Linked DNA regions of Homo sapiens: region 2 is linked to region 1. The links are contacts of gene promoters, found by promoter capture Hi-C in blood cells and fetal thymus (Javierre and others, 2016). All regions are on one chromosome and are shown on one strand. The core of a region is centred on a gene start or on the middle of the fragment in contact, and the rest is flanking DNA. Distances in the headings are between cores, read along the strand shown.

Region 1 (2,700 bases), core at 173-2,672:
ATGGATGGAGTGCCGGCCCACAGCCATCTAACGGCCAAAGTGGTTTTGGAAAAAAAATGCACAGAAGACACCTACTCCCACCAGCGGAGTTCCGGAGCCCTCGCAGCCTCCTGTTGACCGCTCCCGCCTAATGCAGCCGCTGACCGCCCACTCCCCGACGGCCAGGACTCCCCAGGGACAGGGACGTGTCCCCAGGGCAGGCCCCTGGATGGACGCGGCGACTGACCCCACTTCGCTGGACGCTGTGCTGGGAAGGACACAGAGAGGTGGCTGGGGCAGCCTGCGGTCACAAAGCGAGGCCCAAAGGGGCGCTCTCCTCACCCCCACGTCTCCTGGGTGCCGACCTGCACCCTCCCTTCGCCACCGGACTGGGGCCATCTGGGATGTCTCGGGGGTATCCGGAGGGCTAAGCACCGCCGAGGGACGGCTCCGTGGGAAGAGTTTTCTGGACCCAGAAGGCAGACGCCAGTAGTACTGTCCTAGGAGTCGGAGGTCGGGGTGGGGGAGTTCTCAGCTCTTTGGGTCGCACGGAGCTTTTCTTGGGTAAGGCAGTAAGTACTTAGGTTTAAAGGACTTACTTACAGCTACCATTTATTGAGTACTGTCTGCTTGTCAGACACGATGCAGAGAATTTCGCGGCGTGGGGCGGGTCTCATTGAATCTCCCGTCCCACTCCGCGGGGTGGGCCTGTGATTAGCTCATTTCACCATTGAGAGGTCGGAAGTACAAAGGCTACATTCGCTTTTACTGAGAGCCGCCGGCGCCTTCTGCTTTGTTTGTACAGGCGAGGAAACTGAGGCTCGGCTGGTGGCGCCGTGGGCTTGGAGTCCGAGCCACGCTGACTGCAAAGACGGGTCTCATTCCCGCAGATCGAGCTCTGCCGGCGGCTGCGCCGCAAGCCGGGCAGGTGGCGAGCTTGAGCCCCCACGCACAGAAAGCAGGACCCCCTCGGCTGCCTTGGGCCGCCACCGCCAGCAGGCCCTCCGCCCGGGACTAACTTGTTTGCTTTTCATTGGTTCTCATTCAGTTCCCGCCATCGAAAGGCCCCGTCCCGCAGCTTTCCACGCGCGCCCCACTTTACGCCTAAGGTCCTCAGTCTCTCCAGTGGGGCCCTGTCACAGGGACAATAAGCGGCCCTCCAGCCGGCGTCGCTCAGGCTGCGGACCTCACTGCAGACCGGGCCAGCGGTGCGGGGCCCAGCGGAGCCTGAGAAGGTCAAAGGCCGGAGCGCACTGCGCCTCGGGAGCACAGAGGGAGCGGAGGAGGGGCGAAGGGGATGGGTGGGGGGTGCCGCCGAGGGAGTCGCGCGTCAGAGACCCCGGCCACGGCCAGCACTCGGCTCCGGGCCCGCCCCTCACCGCGCGCCCCGCCCCGCCCCGCCTGGCTCTCCCCTCTAAAGCGCCCGGCGCGCGCCTCCCACCGCCGCACTTTCACTCTCCGTCAGCCGCATTGCCCGCTCGGCGTCCGGCCCCCGACCCGCGCTCGTCCGCCCGCCCGCCCGCCCGCCCGCGCCATGAACGCCAAGGTCGTGGTCGTGCTGGTCCTCGTGCTGACCGCGCTCTGCCTCAGCGACGGTAAGTGCGCTCGGCGGGGAGGCCCTGGCGAGGCTCTGGGCTTCGGCTCCCGCCCGGCGCAGAGCCGCGGCTCCTCTGCCTGCGCCCGCAGTTTGCGCCGCCCGACACAGTGGGGGTGGAGGCAGCTCGCTTAGCTGGGCGCTCTGGTGCGGTGTCGCGTTCAAAGCCCTACTTTTGCGCCGAGGGTTTGTGACCTGCAGAGAGCGACCGCCTGACCTCAAGCTGGCTGCAGAGCGAGGTCAGCCGGGACAACTGGGCAGGAACGCCCCAAGAGAGCGTTCGGGACTGGCGCGGGAAGGCGCGAGGGTGGGGAGCCGCGGACCCCAGACCCCTGCCTGCCCACCCTCCACCCACTGCCTTCCCGCTGCGGGCTCGGTTTCCACAGGCGAATGGGCTCCGAGGTCCTGCTGCGCACAGTGCTGGAGGTCGGGCGGTGCATGGCGAGAGCGCGCTTTGCAAAGTTCGCCTCATGCCGCGACTTGAGGCTGTGAGGTCCGATGCAGCCGCGCAGCCTCCGCTCCCTGCGAAGCCGATCCTCTCCCCACACCCTCGCGGGGCTCTTGGCCAGGCGCGGGCGGGCTGCGCGGCGCAGCTGTCGGGCTTGTGCCACCCGCCAGGCCGCGCTTCTGCACAGCTCCGCGGTCCGCAGCGACGCGGACCTGGGCGCGCGTCCAGCCGCTGTCTTCCTGTCTCTTCTCGGGTTCACCTGAGAGAGGCCCAGGGACCCTCCGAGCCTCACACGCCCCCTCCCCAGCTCCCCAAACACACCTGCAGACAGGCTCTTTTGTCACCAGCTGGCCAAGCGCTTTGCCCCAGAATGAGAGCTGCAGCAAAGTTCAATCTCCAAGGCCCTGGGCCACTGGGAACCGTGGTGTCCCGTTTCACTGGGAGAGGGCTTTTTTCTTTTCTTTCGCTGAAGAGAAACTCGCTGCGCTGTCACAGGACACCGATGCAAACCAAAATAAACTGTTGCCTCTGAACACACAAAACAAAACCCTGTGGCTCAGGCCGCTGAGCTTCCTTGGCTGTGAAGTTTCCTGCAAAGAGTTGAAGGACACTCTGAGTGCTCTTGCAGCCGCGGGCTGTGCAGGCCCAGCGCGCCTCGAGCCCTTGGCTGGGTTGGTGC
Region 2 (2,700 bases), core at 181-2,680, 580 kb after region 1:
TTGCCTCTTGTGCTTCCTCCCCATTTGTGAGCACATACATGCAAGCATGTTCATACACACACACACACACACACACACACAACCATACACTTGTACAAATGTAGGCTCTCATGCTGCATATTTATGTTTTTAAAAACTGTTGATCATTTGGAAATCATTAAGATTTTAACTCCTTCACCAGTTCATTGCTGTATGAGGAGTGGAACACACACTGTGCTATAGCACGCTTTGGGCACACTTCTTGCCCTCCCCACGTTCATGCCCTATGTACCTTTGCAATACTCTCCCCTGGGGCAGGGAATAATTATAATCCTCTGATCATCCAACACAATGTGAAGATAATAAAAATTAATTTCAAAAACAAAATTGCACATTTGGAAAAGATGCAGGATTTCATGAGTTCACAAGAAATGTCAGGGCCTGTCTGATCACATCACACCTTCCACCTGTGACTGACTCAGACCAGTCACCAAAGAGTTAAGAAAGGCTCTTGACAACATTGTTGAAAGCTTCTAATGCTTTTGCAAAAATAACAGGCTTTTTAATTTGCTGGGAAGGGGTGCTCTTGTACCACTAGCCTTGAGCTGTGCCCATGATAATCTATAAGAAAATAAGTTATAGATCACAACAGATCAACACATATTTTTTTAAATGATCAATTTTATCACAGCTCAGTGGTAAGTTTATAGAACAAAAAAAAAAGAGTGTCACTTGATAATGAGAAGAAACCTTAAAAGAACAAATGTTAAAGGGCAAACAACCCCCTCCTCCACCACACAGACACACACACACGTATACAGACAATCCTTAAATTCAAAGGCAGTCACTTGCCTCTTTCCTCTAGGAAAATCTAACTTAATCCCTTCAATGATCCCAGGTCTTCAAAAACAAAACCCTGGATTAACACCCTGAATTTAAAATCTGGGTGTCTTGAATGTCTTTGAAAGTACAATCTCAAAAAGCAAAGAAAAAATTTTCAGGTGGGAGAGGAAAAAAAAATACCTACAACAGAGAGAAGAAAACACATAATATCCCAATAAAATATCTTGGCACCTGTATGCTTGGCTGTACATGCACCTGTGTTGTACATGCACACATGTCCATGGGTTACCCTGGCCCCAACTTACACGGGGAAGGTAACTGTATGACCTATCCACACATCTGGCTGCTTCTACCCCAGCTAACTGACAAATACTCCCAAATATTTTGCTATTGGTTGATTTGACAGCCACTCTGGAATAGTTGGTTGGCAAGAGGTTTTAAAGCAACAGAAAACCCAAGGTTGGATGGATTTGCCATCCCCTCCACTTAGGTAAAATGGCTTCCAGTAAGGGGTTGTGCCAGTATTGGCTGCTAGCTAATTTAAGGTCCAATGGAAAATGAAAATAAACAAGTATTAATCCTGAGAACCTTTTTGTGGAGTTATGAAAACAGTCTGTTATAAAACGCATCCAGATGTCAGCCAAGAGTGAGTCAATTGGAATAATAGCTTCAAGTGAAACCAGCAAAGGGCAGCAGGTCAGGCTGTGGGGATTCTGAGGAATGCCCACTCACAGACCCAGGAGCGCACCGCTGCACACCAGCCTGGAGCCTCGCCCACGACACAGAATTCTGTTAAACGATCTATAAAAAGAATTTATGGATCCCATGGACCAACATCGATTTTTTTAAATTAATTTTGTCACAGCTTAAGGGCAGGTTTATAGAAGACCAAGACAAAAAAAAAAGCGTCATTTGATAATGAGAAGAAACTTTAAAAGAGCAACATTTTATTTGACAATTATTAAATTTTTATACCAGTGAAAACAGTTTAATTTTATAAAGACCTATAAAACAATCTCCTGTTGATACACTAGCCCTGTTCTTCAAAAACACATGCCTGAGGATATTTACTGGAACATTTAATATTAAGACCTCTGAAGTAATCTACAAGTCAATCTGTGGAATATTGGTTAAACAAATGATGGTACACTTCTACAGTAGAACCAAATGCAAGTGTTTCTTAATTAATTAATTTTTTATTTATAATTGAAAAAATGCAAATGTTGAAAAGGGTGATAGACCTCCTTGACAACTGCTGTGAAATCATGTCTAGCATAAATTAAGTAGGAAAAAGCAAGTAACAGAGCATTAAACATCATTATTCAGCCATCTTTGCATAAATCAGTCTATCAATCTATGTTTCTCTGATTGTCTATGCAGGAAAAGTTCTAGAAAGAAGCCAATGTTCATGATGGCCACCTCTGAGGAGTGTAGGAGCTGAGGGCAGAGGAGCTTTTCCTTTTTGTGTTGTAGTTTTCTATACTGCTTTAATTTTTCACGTTAGCATGTATTGTTTTTGTAAAGCTTTTTAATTAATTGGTTTAAAAGAGAAGGGGAGGGAAAGGCAAAAGAGCAAGCGGCCTGTTGGAGTGGAAAGCTAACTAATGGGGCATTGGCAATCTGGTTCTTAAAAGGAAATGGGACTCCTATGAAAATACAGAAAACCTCTGAAAATGCAGGAAGTCCAACAGTCACCACAAGGGAAACAGTTTTACCCACTGTGTTTTCTCAAATGAGTGAGCAATTGCCTAAAAATACTACACTGTGTGGTTGCATGTGTTCAGTCCCCACTCAGGATCCTGATAGCATCTCAATTACCTGATGCCAACTTCACTTTAACATTGACTTTTTATTTTAAAAACAAATTGCTGATCTTTG

What was found. Contacts are between HindIII fragments. The CHiCAGO score rates a contact against its expected background, and 5 or more counts as called.
Region 2: a contact is called between a fragment that was not itself captured here and the fragment with the promoter of CXCL12 in region 1, in 1 of 17 cell types (neutrophils). The highest score is 5.1, in neutrophils.

The regions. Positions count from the first base shown.
Region 1 is chr10:44,383,819-44,386,518 of GRCh38, reverse strand. CXCL12 (C-X-C motif chemokine ligand 12) reads left to right here and starts at 1,422. Exons shown (of 3, transcript NM_199168.4): 1 at 1,422-1,574. The coding sequence starts at 1,514. RefSeq lists enhancers at 1,787-2,478, 2,479-2,700. The HindIII fragment of the contact is 14,357 bases long and covers 1-2,700 here.
Region 2 is chr10:43,808,183-43,810,882 of GRCh38, reverse strand. The region is part of intron 2 of LOC105378275 (a long non-coding RNA gene); the gene reads right to left. Among named protein-coding and RNA genes, the nearest start is that of LINC02658, 31 kb to the right of the region's middle. The HindIII fragment of the contact is 1,837 bases long and covers 512-2,348 here.